Linked DNA regions of Homo sapiens: regions 2 and 3 are each linked to region 1. The links are contacts of gene promoters, found by promoter capture Hi-C in blood cells and fetal thymus (Javierre and others, 2016). All regions are on one chromosome and are shown on one strand. Each heading gives the region's core, a stretch centred on a gene start or on the middle of the fragment in contact. The rest is flanking DNA. Distances are from core to core; before and after follow the strand shown. Region 1 holds the start of TGFB3 (transforming growth factor beta 3). Region 2 overlaps TTLL5 (tubulin tyrosine ligase like 5). Region 3 overlaps TTLL5 (tubulin tyrosine ligase like 5).

Region 1 (3,256 bases), core at 1-2,500:
TTGCTCAAGATCTGTCCCCTAATGGCTTCCACCCTCTTCTTCTTGATGTGGCCGAAGTCCAAGGTGGTGCAAGTGGACAGAGAGAGGCTGACCGTGGCAAAGTTCAGCAGGGCCAGGACCACCAGAGCCCTTTGCAAGTGCATCTTCATGTGTGAGCTGGGAAGAGAGGCCAGGGGGACGGCAAGGCCTGGAGAGGAAGAGACCCCAGCAGACGTGCAGAAGGAGGGAGGAAAACCAGGCGGCCTCCCCAGATCCCAAAGACTGAGGCTTGGCAAGAAGGTGCATGAACTCACTGCACTGCGAGAGCTTCAGGACTTCCAGGAAGCGCTGGCAACCCTGAGGACGAAGAAGCGGACTGTGTGCCTTGTAGCGCTGGGATTCTTGTCCATGTGTCTAAACAGGTTTTGCTGGGCTCTGACTCCCAGCAGGCCAGGTGGAGGGCAAGCAGAGGGCTGGGAGGGGTGGCAAGGCAGCTGGGAGTGGGAAGGGAGCTGGAGTTTTTCCTTAGGTAAAAATAAATAGAGTGGATATCTGATATTGCCAAACGCCGCTTGGCGATGGGGAGAAAGTGGGTATTTTAAAGAAGAAGCAGAAGGACCATGGCTGGGTCCCAAAATCAAAATCCTTGCCTTGCCTTGAAAGAAAATAAGAAAAGAGAATGGAAAAGAAAAGGGAAAAAAAAGTAAAAAAAAAAAGATCACCAGTGAGTAGGTGGGGAGAAGCAGGGCCGGGCAGTTGCTGGCCCAGCTAAAGGTGGGGGCAGTACAGGACACACTTGTCTCTCAGGCACTCCATTCATGCTTTCTCTTTTGTTTACACTTCCTCGGGGGCTTTCTAAATGACTTTGTTCACGCTGCCTCTCGTCTTCATTGGCTGGGGTGTGGGGTTATATGCATTGGAAGGCAGGGAGGCAGGCCTCTGAGCGCAGCAGCCCCAATCATCCACTCAGACGCCCAGGGTCACCAGCACCTCGGCTTGTCTTCTGCCTCGGCCATTGCTTCTGTCCCCTGCTTCTCTTTAAAAAATAAAAAGGAGAAAAAAATAAAATAAAATAGAAGCCAGTTCACGGCACGCCTGCTCCGGAAAGCTGTTATTCCTTCTCTCGCACGCCTCTTCCCCTGTCTCTGCCTCTCTCGCTCATTCCCTTGGACTTGACTCTCTGCTTCCCTCCCTTTCTCTCTCTCCCTCTCCCTCTCCCTCTCGCTCCTCTCCCTCTCTCTCTCACACACACACACATGCACACACACTGCTTTCTCTATTTCTCTCTGCTGAAATTTTATACCTCCCTCCCATGACGTCTCTGGCCTGGGGTGGGGGAGGGAGGGACCAGCGCACGCAGCCTCTTTTGCTGCACGATGTTAATGTTTTAAACAGGCACAGGAAAAGCCGAGCCCTTTTGAAAAATACTTTGCGAGTCCTCTCGTTCGACGTGGTAGCTGAACTTTTTTTCCCCTCTTGGAATCACTCCTGCCACACGTTGGCTGTTTTTCTGGAAAGTTACTCCGATGAGCCCCCTCCCTCCCTTTCCCCCAGCCCCGGCGCCCTCTCGCCAGCTGTCAGTCCGCGCCGTCCGCGGCCCGCGTCTACTCTCCCTCCTGGTCCCCCGGTCCCGGGGCCGCCCGCGGGCCAGGCCCAACCCGGGGCAGGGTCCGCAGAGGGCGCGGGACCCGGTAGGGGCGGCCATGCCAGCCTCGCAGAGGGGACTCCCAGCCTGCGAGCCGGGTCGGAGGGTCGGCGTCCGCTCCGCGGCGATCCTGGCCCGATTCTTCATTGACAAGATCGGAGTCGGGAGGCGGGCAGAAGCCTGGAGACGCTCCAGGGGCAGTGAAAAATGGTGGCGTTTTCCGGAAGATCGAGGGTGCCCTCTGGCGAGGCGAGGCCGCCAGTGAAGGAGCTCGGCTGGTCGGGAGCCGGGGAGGCTCGGGGGCTGGGGGCTGCGGGGTGGGGGCTGAGGGGCGGGAGAAGGGGCTGCGGTAGAGAGCGAGAAAAACAAGACCCAGGCCCCGAGGAATCGCCTCCCTCCCGGCCCGACGTGCGCACGAGCGCACCTCTCCCTCCCCGACCGCCGCTCCGGAGCCGCTCTCGCAGAAATGTCATCCAGATGTTCAGCCTCCCTCCCCGCCGAGGTCTCCGCAGGGAGCTGCGCCAGCGAGCGCGAAGTCAGCAGTTGGCCCGAGCCCATTTCCCAGATGGGTGAGGGGAAGTCGGCTCTGTGCTTTCGCTCCTCTTCTCGGCCCGAACCTCTAGGCCTTTTCCCACGAGCAGCCAAGGGAGGGTAGGGCACGTGGCTCCCCGCACCCCGCAACACAGGGCTTGCCTCTGAACTGAACTTTCCTGAGAGTGAGTGCCGCTCCCACCCCATCTCACTCCAGCCTTCCTGGACCCTTTCTGAGAGGTCTGGCTTCCAGGCCACTAACTGAAGGGGCTGTTCTCTGTATCCCAGCACAGCGGTGGGTCACTTTACGGATGAGGAAACTGAGGCATAGAGTTTTTTGTTTTTTTTTTTACAGACCACACTGCTTGTGAGTGATGGAGGCGATATTTTACACAGGCTATCTAGCTTGGGTAGGCATTACTTTCATTTGCAAAACCAATGGGAAACCTAGGGGTAGAAACTTTAAAAGTAACTTGCCCAAGGTCACATAGTTATTAGGTGTCAGCTGTTGGGATTTGGACCCAGGACGTTGCCAGATTCTGGACTTAATTACTATGCTATACTGCCTCTGAAATTTCAGAAAAAGTTTAATGTTTACTATATACCAGGCACTATTCTAGGCTCTGTGAAGAATATCAGTGAACGAAACAAAACTCCTGCCCTCAGGGAAATTTTATTTTAGAGGCAGGGGTGGGGCAGTGGAGGAGGCGATAAACTAAATAAATATGTAAATGATGTAGTACGGTAAAAAGTGCTGAGCCAGGTGCAGTGGCTCACGCCTGTAATCCCAGCATTTGGGGAGGCCCATGCAGGAGGATTACTTGAGCTCAGGAATTCGAGACCAGCCCCAGCAACACGGCGAAACCCAGTCTCTACAAAAAAATGGAAAAATTAGCCCGGCATGTTGGCGCAGGCATCTACTTGGGAGGCTGAGGCAGGATAATCACTTGAGCCAGGGAGGCAGAGTTTACAGGGGGCCAAGATTGCACCACTGCACTCCAGCCTGGACGACAGAGCAAGACCGTGTCTCAAACAGACAAGCAAACAAACAAATGTGGTGTGGCAGAAAATCAAGCAGGGAAGGAGGATGGGGTGTGCCTA
Region 2 (4,379 bases), core at 687-3,186, 240 kb before region 1:
AGAACCACAGAATTATGTATAAAGGATCATGAACATTTCTGTGCAGCTTTAACACAGTTTCTGCCAAGTTTCACTTCTAGAGGTAGCTGTATTGCCAGTCTTAAATGAATTGGTCCCTTTTCTTAGTTTGCCTGTCAGCTTTATTGGCAACTCTTTGCAAACTCTAGAAAATCTGTTCAATGCTTGTTTTGCCAACTGGTAGGTAATGGCATGATTACATCCATAAGCAGCCTACAGGACACTTACATAAAGGCTAAAGGAACTGTAGATTGGTCATGTGTACTGTGTGAAACCAGTTTGTCAGGTGGACTAGTTGACTTCAGGATCTTCAGTATCTGGCAGTAGGATTGTGCCCTCAGTGGTGAGAAGTTGAAGCTGGAATATATATGGCATAGGAGAAAGCAGTGTGAAAGAAAATAAATGTTCTAACCTTCCAACCACAAAGTGTAGGGCTCTTGCTTTTGGTTTCTGCTTGGAGATTATTTTTTCCTTTTTTATATCATAGATCTAGGAGATGGAAAATGTAGGCATATTAGGAGAAGATAAGGGTTTATTCCATTTTTCTGTCTTTTATAGCGTCCAGTATCTGCACAGTTTCAGTCGTCAAAGGCCAAGCAGGTAAGTTCTAGATCTTTTGGAGACTTCTTCAAATTTTATTTTCATTCTCCAAATGGAAAGTTTTTTAGCTTTAGTTTTTCATGGTACATATTTTTATGTACCTATTTTTTTGCGCAGTTTAATAACAAAGTGAATGAAAATGAATGCATAGAAGTCTTTTTGGTTATAGGATATAAGAGTAGAGGATGCAGGAACTTAGGGATCCTCTTTTCCTGATAGTGATTATACTGAGATGGAGACAGTTGAATTTAAATGAGGAACAGGGGCTTGAAGGCATATCTATCACTTTGACCAAAATAATCCAGGAAGGAAATTTTCCAGTTCACAAATGAACTTCAATTTTTTTTTTCAGACATCTTATGAAACATACTGTTGTCTATAGCTTAATATTGGAAATGTTTTCACATTGGGTGTAGGGTTGTATTTGAGTTCCTTAACAGGTGACATTTCAAATATGTAGTGATCTGCAGTTTATAAATCTTAGAAGCTCTGCCACAATAGTGTCTCAGATGCTACCTTTGAAATACAAACATCTTTCTTTCTGAATGATCAGCATTTGCTTTCTTACTGTTTTTGTTAGCAGTATTTGAGATTAACCATTGCTTTCTTCTGCACAGATTTAAAAAATTCTTTTTGAAGTAATAGGCTAGCAGTGGGGGTCCTGTGCCTGCTATTTGATGCTTTAGTATGAGGGATATAGATATTCTCATATATAAACGTGTCACTGCAACTGTTGTTTAGCAAAAAGCTCCAGTATATTTATTTTGGCGTTTGTACTCTCTGATGCAATTTCTGGTAAGCTTGAATGCTTGACATGTAACTTTTCTTAGCTACTGTTTCTGATAAAGTGATTTATATGGTTTATGTGAATCCAAGAAATGAAAAATAACTTACTGGATGCCTTGTCTAATATTTAGTAACTGATTAATGTGGCTCTGTAGTATGAGTTTTGGTGCTTAGTTGGTGGAATTCGAAACTCTATAATATGTAGTATTTTATATTTAGTAAATACCTAAGTATGCTAGTTGCTCCCATGGCAGAAAACAAAACAAAATAATGCTGTTGACTTCAAAGAGCTTATATTCTAAATATACCTGGAACTAATGTACTGAAAGGAGTACGTTAGGAAAGGGGTACTCTTTCATAGCCTGTGGCATTTGACTGTAAAGAAGTGTCTTTGATAGGTAATTCTAATTTATTTTTACTTACTTATTTGAGACAGCGTGTCACTCCATCACCCAGGCTGGAGTGCAGTGACGCGATCACAGCTCACTACAGCCTGGACTTCCTGGGCTCAGGTGATCCTCCCACCTTGGCCTCCTGATTAGCTGGGACTACAGGTGCACACCACCATGCCTGGCTAATTTTTTGTATTTTTGGTAGAGATGAGGGTTTTGACCTGTTACCCAGGTTGGTCTGGAACTCCTGAGCTCAAGCGATCTGCCTGCCTCGGCCCTCCCAAAGTGCTGGGATTGCAGGCATGAGCCACCATGCCCGGCCTTTGATATGTAATTCTAATCTTAATTTCTCATTATCAATTTTAATTCCATTACATCTAGTTGCATTGCTTGAATTACCGTAGGTTGTAATAGGCTTGTTGGAGAGCAAGACCTCTCTTTAGTAGTAATGTATCTGAATACTTGCTTACGTGACATAAAGCCTTTCTGGCTTTATTCAGCCAGCTTTATACATGTTGAATTCTTTGACTTTTATTGTACTTTGCAATGTTCTATTTTGTCATTGTCTTTCTGTTAACGAAGCACTCTTAACTTCACAGTATTTTCATTGGAGCTAAGTAAAAAAAAAAATTTCTTTGTTCTGACCAGTTAGACTGTGTCAAGCTTTCTTTTTCTGTTGCTGTCAGATTGTGAATTCTCTTAGTCCTTTGCCCTTTTTCTGCCTTTTCCTTTTTAAACCATTATCTCTATATTTCTCCTTTCTCTTTAATGTCTATGGTTCAAATTTTCCACTCACCAGAAATTGTATGGCATGGTACTGTGGAAAGAATATGGACTTTTACAGTCCGATAGACCTGGATTCAAATTTGAGCTCTGCCAAAAACTAGCAATTAGACCTTTGGGCAAGTTCTCTTACCTCTCTGAGGCTCAATTCCCACATCTGTCATATGGGGATAATAATATATACATGAAGTTACAGTGAGGAAGAAATGATAAAATGGAGGTAAAATATTCAGGATAAGTGCTAGACATGTAGTTTACACTAAGAAGATTTACTCCCCTTCACACTTTTGAGTCTTTTGATTTTCCCATTGTCAAGATCTCTTGTTATTTTGATATTCACCTGTTTGTAGTCATGTTTTTCACATTTGCCATCATCCACAAATGCTATTTTGTTTTTCCTTCCAGATGTTAATGAAGATTCTAAATAATGCTTAGTTAATACCCATTCCAGAAATCACTTTCTAACTTGATTCACTGCTATTTATCTTGCAGTTACACTGTTTTCAGTGTTTGTTGATGTGTTATATTCTGGCACTAACCCCTAACTGGAAATATAATTTAGAATAAAAATTTTGTGAAATTTTCTCAAATGCTTCTCTAAAATCCAAAGACATTTAATATATTGCTATAGTTCCCCTTTTAAAAATCTTGTCCTAAAAATGAAACTTTTAAAGCATGTTTTAAAATAAAGCATTCTTCATACTATTCTTCATAAGCCCATTATCCTCTAAGTTATTAGGGATTTTTTCCTTTTAATATTTGTTCCATTATTTTACTAGGGATTCGAGTTAGGTTTACCAGGCAGTAACCACCAGGAGCATACTTCTTACATTTTTGAAGATTAGTACCTCATTTGGTTTTTTTCTAAACTGGTACCTCCTCAGTTCTTCATGATTTTTCAAACATAATTATAAGTGGTTTGGGTAAGTTTTGTTTGTTTTTAAAGCCAATTTCCTTAATAACAGGATGCATGTCTCTCAGACCTGCTGGCTTACATTTATTCCAAATTTCTAGATGCTGTTACACAAGCCTACTTGCTTTCTCCCCTCCACCTGCCAATTTCAAAGTATACCCTGATTATCAGTATGTTTAAACCTTCTCTTAGAAGCCATTTTTTTGGTCCATTTCCATTCAGATTTATTGATAATGTGGTCTTTTCCATTTGTTTTCTTTCATTTGATAGCATTCATTTTACTTTTAAACTTGATTTTACCTGTTGTTTTTTAGATGGTAAAATGTATCACATATAAATTGAGCTATTTCTAGTTCCTTTGCTTTTAATGAAGAATTCCAAACTTTGTAAAACTGCATTGGGAGATTTTTATTCTTTGCATGTGTTCTCTGTCAAGCAAATTTTGTTTTTGCCCCTCAATTATGACATAGTCTTAGGATATCTTGCCATTTTTCCCCATTCCACATTTTGTTAAGTTCTTCTCATCATTGGTACTTGCCAGCTTTTTAAAGGCTGAGAGTCATTTTCTGATTCAACATCTGTTTCTTACTACTTTGATTGAGTGGAGACTGGTGGTTCCTTGTCTCAATAATTTCACACTTTCAGCCAGTTGTTCCTTAGCAATGATGGTTAGATATGTAAGGTTTCTTCTCTGGGAAGATTTCTGAATCGTAAGTTGTACTATTGATAAATTCATCTTTATCCTTGGTGCATGTTGCATGGCAGAATTCTTGACAGTAATTTGACAGTTTATAATTTATCTGAGCACTGGATATCTAAATCATGTATCTTTTAGCCAGAGGCAATGGTTCTCCTCTCTAAGTTCAGAGGACCTTACTTCCTTAGTG
Region 3 (4,379 bases), core at 1,018-3,517, 210 kb before region 1:
ATTTACAGAAGTCCTATGAAATAATGACTGTGATTAGATACTGTTATTATTAAGGAAACTGAGCCTTAGAGAGGTTAGGTAACTTGTCTAAGGTAGAGCTATGATACAAACCCGGGTCTCATTGGTTGGGCATTTGTGTCAGTCACTGAGTATAAGGTAACTGGGACAAGGAGCTCAAGCAGCTCGTCGTTTAGTATCAGAGACAGAGAGCTCAGGCCATGGCCCCACTATGAACAAAGTGGTCTTAGGACACAGAAAAAGAGTGATTGGTCTGGCTTGGGAGGGCTAGAAAGGCATTATGGATGAGGGAAAATTTGAATCAGGCCTTGACAGATGAGTAGGGTTTCAGGAGCTTTGGGAAGTGATGGTTAAATGTGGGAGTGCTAGGTAGAGGCAATAAAGACGTAGAGGTGGCCAAGCTCAGTGTCTCACACCTATAATTGCAGCACTTTGGGAGGCCGAGGTGGTCGGATCACCTAAGGTCAGGAGTTCGAGACCAGCCTGACCAACATGGAGAAACCCTGTCTCTACTAAAAATACAAAATTAGCTGGGTGTGGTGGTGCATGCCTGTAAGCCCAGCTACTCGGGAGGATGAAGCAGGAGAATTGCTTGAACCTGGAAGGTGGAGTTTGCAGTGAGCCAAGATTGTGCCATTGCACTCCAGCCTGGGCAACAAGAGTGAAACTCCATCTTAAAAAAAAAAAAAAAAAGACATAGAGGTGTGATAATACAGTCATTCATTAAGTCCCTCAGTGAGTTTTTATTGAGCACCTGCCCTATGCCAGTTGTGCTAGGCCATATCACATTACTGTGGGGACCAAGATAGGCCTGGAGTTTACAGTCTAGTGGGGAAGAATGACAGTTAACAAAGAAACAAGGTCATTTCAGGTCGTGAGAAATGCTGTCAGGACAATAAGATGGTGTAATGTTAGAATGTAATTGGGCAGAGTTACTTAATTGCAGTGATCTGGCATGAAGAGGTAACCTTTGAGGTAAGTCCTGAATGATGAGGAGTCAGTCGTGTGAATAGTAGGAGGCAGAATACTCCCAGCAGAATAGCAAGTACAAAAGCCCAGACATCGTAATGAGCTTGGTGTGTTTACAAAATACAGACTAGAGGAATTATATAAGGAGAAGAGCATGGTAAGAAATGAGACTAAAAAATTGGATGTTGTTAGATTGTGAAGGGCCGTAAGAGGAGCCTAAGCTTTATTTTCTAGATGACTTTTAAGCAGATAAATGATACGGTGAGATCTTGTTTTAGAAAGTAAATCGTGCTTGCATTGTGGGATAGTGAAACTAAAGGCAGGGGGGTGAGTTAGGGACTGTTAGAATTGTCCAGAGCCAGGAAGATGAAGGCCTTGATCAGAGTAATGGCTTTAGGAGTGGAGAGAATGGGATGGACTTAGTAAAATTTGCAAAGTAAAATTGATGAGACTAAGTTTTTCACATTTGGAAACTTGGTGGTGCCTTTGGTCAATATAAGGAACATAGGAGTTGGTTTCATGTTAAAAACAATGAGTTTGATTTAAGATGTAGTAAGGAAGAAGGGTTCTGGGCTAAAGTCCAATAGACAGGTGGACAGCTTTGTTGATCAAGGTTGAACAGGATTGTATAGTTGGTAGGTAAAGTCTTGCGAATGGATAAGATTGTTCACAAATTTATTTGGTTCAGCAAGGATAAAAAAAGAATTGAGCCCTGGGGAATACCACTGTTCAATGGGTAAGTCAGTAAAAAGGTCAAGATGTAGCAGTTAGAGCAATAGACATAAGATCAGGAAGGAGTAGTATGGTAAAAGCTGCAGAATGAGCATTTCAGGTCTGTAGAGCCTCAAACAGCCCTAGTTAGGATGAATAGTGAAAAGAGACTTCTGGATTTGTGACCTAGGGCCAACTGAGTAGGTGGAAGACCAGTTGTGAGTGGAGAAAATAAGAAAGCAAGTGTGAACTAACTGTCTAAGGGTTTGGCAATGAAAGGAAGGTAAGAATGCATCAGGGAGACAGCCAGCTAAAAGAAACGGATTTTTTTTTTTTCTTTTGAGAAGAGGTTCTGGAGGTTGTTTATAGACTAAGGGGAAGGATTTGAGGATAAGAGGATTAGAAATGCAGAAATGGACATATTGGTAGAGAAGAGTACTAAAGGAAGGTGGGAAGAGGCCAGAGGAGGGAGTATCTCTTCCTATCAGTCAGAAAGAAAGTGCTATGGGATGAATGAAGTTGACAGAAGTTTAAGAGCAAGGAAGTTTAGCCGTTTATGCATGATAGTCTTTATTTCTAAATTAGAGGCCAGTTCTTATACTGAAAGGCTGGAGGGTGACATTGGAGTAGCAGGGGATAGAGTTAAGGTTTGGAACAGTGTCATGGAGAATAAGAATAGTTCTGTCAGTGGAGAATAGAATATGCTAAACTCAGTCAGAAGACCTGAGCTCTGGCTGTTTTAGTGCTACCAACTGGCCGTGTGGTCATAGACAAGTCAAAGAGCTTCTATAGGCCTCAGTTTCCTTTTCTGTCAATCCAAGATGTGGAGTTAGACAAGTGTTTTTTCAAACTTCTTCCTAGAGGGAAAGAAGATTTCACTGAATTGAAAATAGAGCATTTGAAAACCACTGGACTGTATTCTAAGGTCCTTTCCAGCAATAACATTCTGCTTAGTTGTTGTAGAAATAAATTATTTCTTCATGAATCTTGTGGCTCTCGCTTTGAATGAGTAAACTGTTAAAATTGCAGGCTGCGTTAGTGTCAATCAGTGGTTTTCAGACTGTGTTCCCTAAAGCTGCTCATTGTTCGGTGAAGTGTCTCAGAGGCTACTTAGGGGTTTGGGGAAAGTCCACGCACAGCCAGGGTTCAAAACTCTAAGGATCGCGTCATTGTTGCATATCTTATATACTGAGCATCTGCATAACCTTTTGTTTTTTAAAATAGGTTTCTTTGGTTTTTATTCTTTCTGGTTTTTATTCTTTCATCTTTTGGGGGGTTTGTTGCAAGTGACTAGCTGAACAATGTGTCCAATACCTTAGAGACAGTCTCAGAATTAACATTCGTGACGTTTATGGAAATGGAAACCTCAATATTTGTTCATTTGCTTTGCAACAGTGATTCACAACAAAACAATGATTGAAGTCTCAACTTATGAGCAATAATCCCCTTATTTAAAAGATCTTCAAGTTTTAGTATAAAGGGATGAATCCGTGGAATTGGATATTCTGCTACATTTGAAGGTGTCTGAAACATGCTATTTCTTGCTCATTATATTGTAGGTGAATTTATTGACCCAAACTGAGGATCTTTTAAATTTATTTTGACTTGAGAATAATTTGTTGTGGAGACAAAGCTTATAGGATTGATTCAGGGTAAAGTGATATATGCTCTCTGGGTAAACAAGAGTATAATTATTGTCTTTGAGGAACAGTTGAAAATGTACATTTATGGCCAGGCGTGCAGGCTCATGCCTGTAATCCCAGCACTTTGGGAGGCTGAGGTGGGTGGATCACCTGAGGTCAGGAGTTTGAGACCAACCTGATCAACATGGTGAAACTCTATCTCTATTAAAATACAAAAATTAGCTGGGCATAGTAGTGAGCACCTGTAATCTTAGCTACTTGGGAGGCTGAGGCAGGAGAATCGCTTGAACCTGGGAGGCAGAGGTTGCAGTGAACCAAGATCACACCACTGCACTCCAGCCTGGGTGACAAGAGCAAAACTCTGTCTCGAAAAAAAAAAAAAAAAAAAGAAAATATAAGTGTATTATTTCAAAACCATATTATGCTCCCATAAAAACCATCCCTGCTAGTAACAAAGATGTAGCCTTATTCTTAGTTCATGTTCTGAAGCTCTTATGTATTAAACTCTCAAAAGCAAATCTTCTCCCCAGCCTGACTCCCTTGCCCTCCAATTCTCCAACATACACATGGAAGCTAGACTGGAGCCCTCTTAAGATGTGCAGCTTACTTTAGCCAAATCCTACCTCCTAACCTTGTGAAAACAGTCAGTAGAAAGCATTCAGTGATTGCATTTGTGGGGATTGTAAACAAAGTTTGTGTTGGGCCCTAATCTTCGCTGATATAATTTTGGCTACAGTATCAGAAGGCCGATCAGCTGAAGTAACCAAAATCTGGCCTGAAAGAAAACAGATCTGCCATGAACAGCAGCTGAGGTGAAAATCATCAGTGTCTCTCTGGTACTTCTGTCTTCCAAACTATAGCTTGATCAGATTTCCTTATTTCCAGCCTAGGCCACCAGGCAGAAAATAGCTGCGTTCTTTAATGATGTTGCTAAGGTGCTTTTCACAAGACTTGAGGATTTCTTTCGCCCACTGAACATCTGGGCTTGTCCTGCCTGGCCCATCAGTTCATCTGTGCCAAACTCTGTTGGACCTCCCT

Evidence for each region. The method cuts DNA at HindIII sites, captures the fragments that hold promoters and counts their contacts. A CHiCAGO score of 5 or more calls a contact.
Region 2: a contact is called between a fragment that was not itself captured here and the fragment with the promoter of TGFB3 in region 1, in 2 of 17 cell types (M1 macrophages and M0 macrophages). The highest score is 5.6, in M1 macrophages.
Region 3: a contact is called between a fragment that was not itself captured here and the fragment with the promoter of TGFB3 in region 1, in 2 of 17 cell types (endothelial precursors and M1 macrophages). The highest score is 5.6, in endothelial precursors.

What each region holds. Positions count from the first base shown.
Region 1 is chr14:75,980,745-75,984,000 of GRCh38, forward strand. It overlaps TGFB3 (transforming growth factor beta 3), which reads right to left and starts at 1,251. Exons shown (of 7, transcript NM_003239.5): 1 at 1-1,251. The coding sequence starts at 149. RefSeq lists silencers at 1,556-1,795, 1,926-2,045 and an enhancer at 1,826-1,885. The HindIII fragment of the contact is 14,571 bases long and covers 1-3,256 here.
Region 2 is chr14:75,736,990-75,741,368 of GRCh38, forward strand. The region is part of intron 15 of TTLL5 (tubulin tyrosine ligase like 5); the gene reads left to right. Among named protein-coding and RNA genes, the nearest start is that of TTLL5, 78 kb to the left of the region's middle. The HindIII fragment of the contact is 1,041 bases long and covers 1,417-2,457 here.
Region 3 is chr14:75,766,470-75,770,848 of GRCh38, forward strand. The region is part of intron 20 of TTLL5 (tubulin tyrosine ligase like 5); the gene reads left to right. Among named protein-coding and RNA genes, the nearest start is that of TTLL5, 110 kb to the left of the region's middle. The HindIII fragment of the contact is 2,123 bases long and covers 1,207-3,329 here.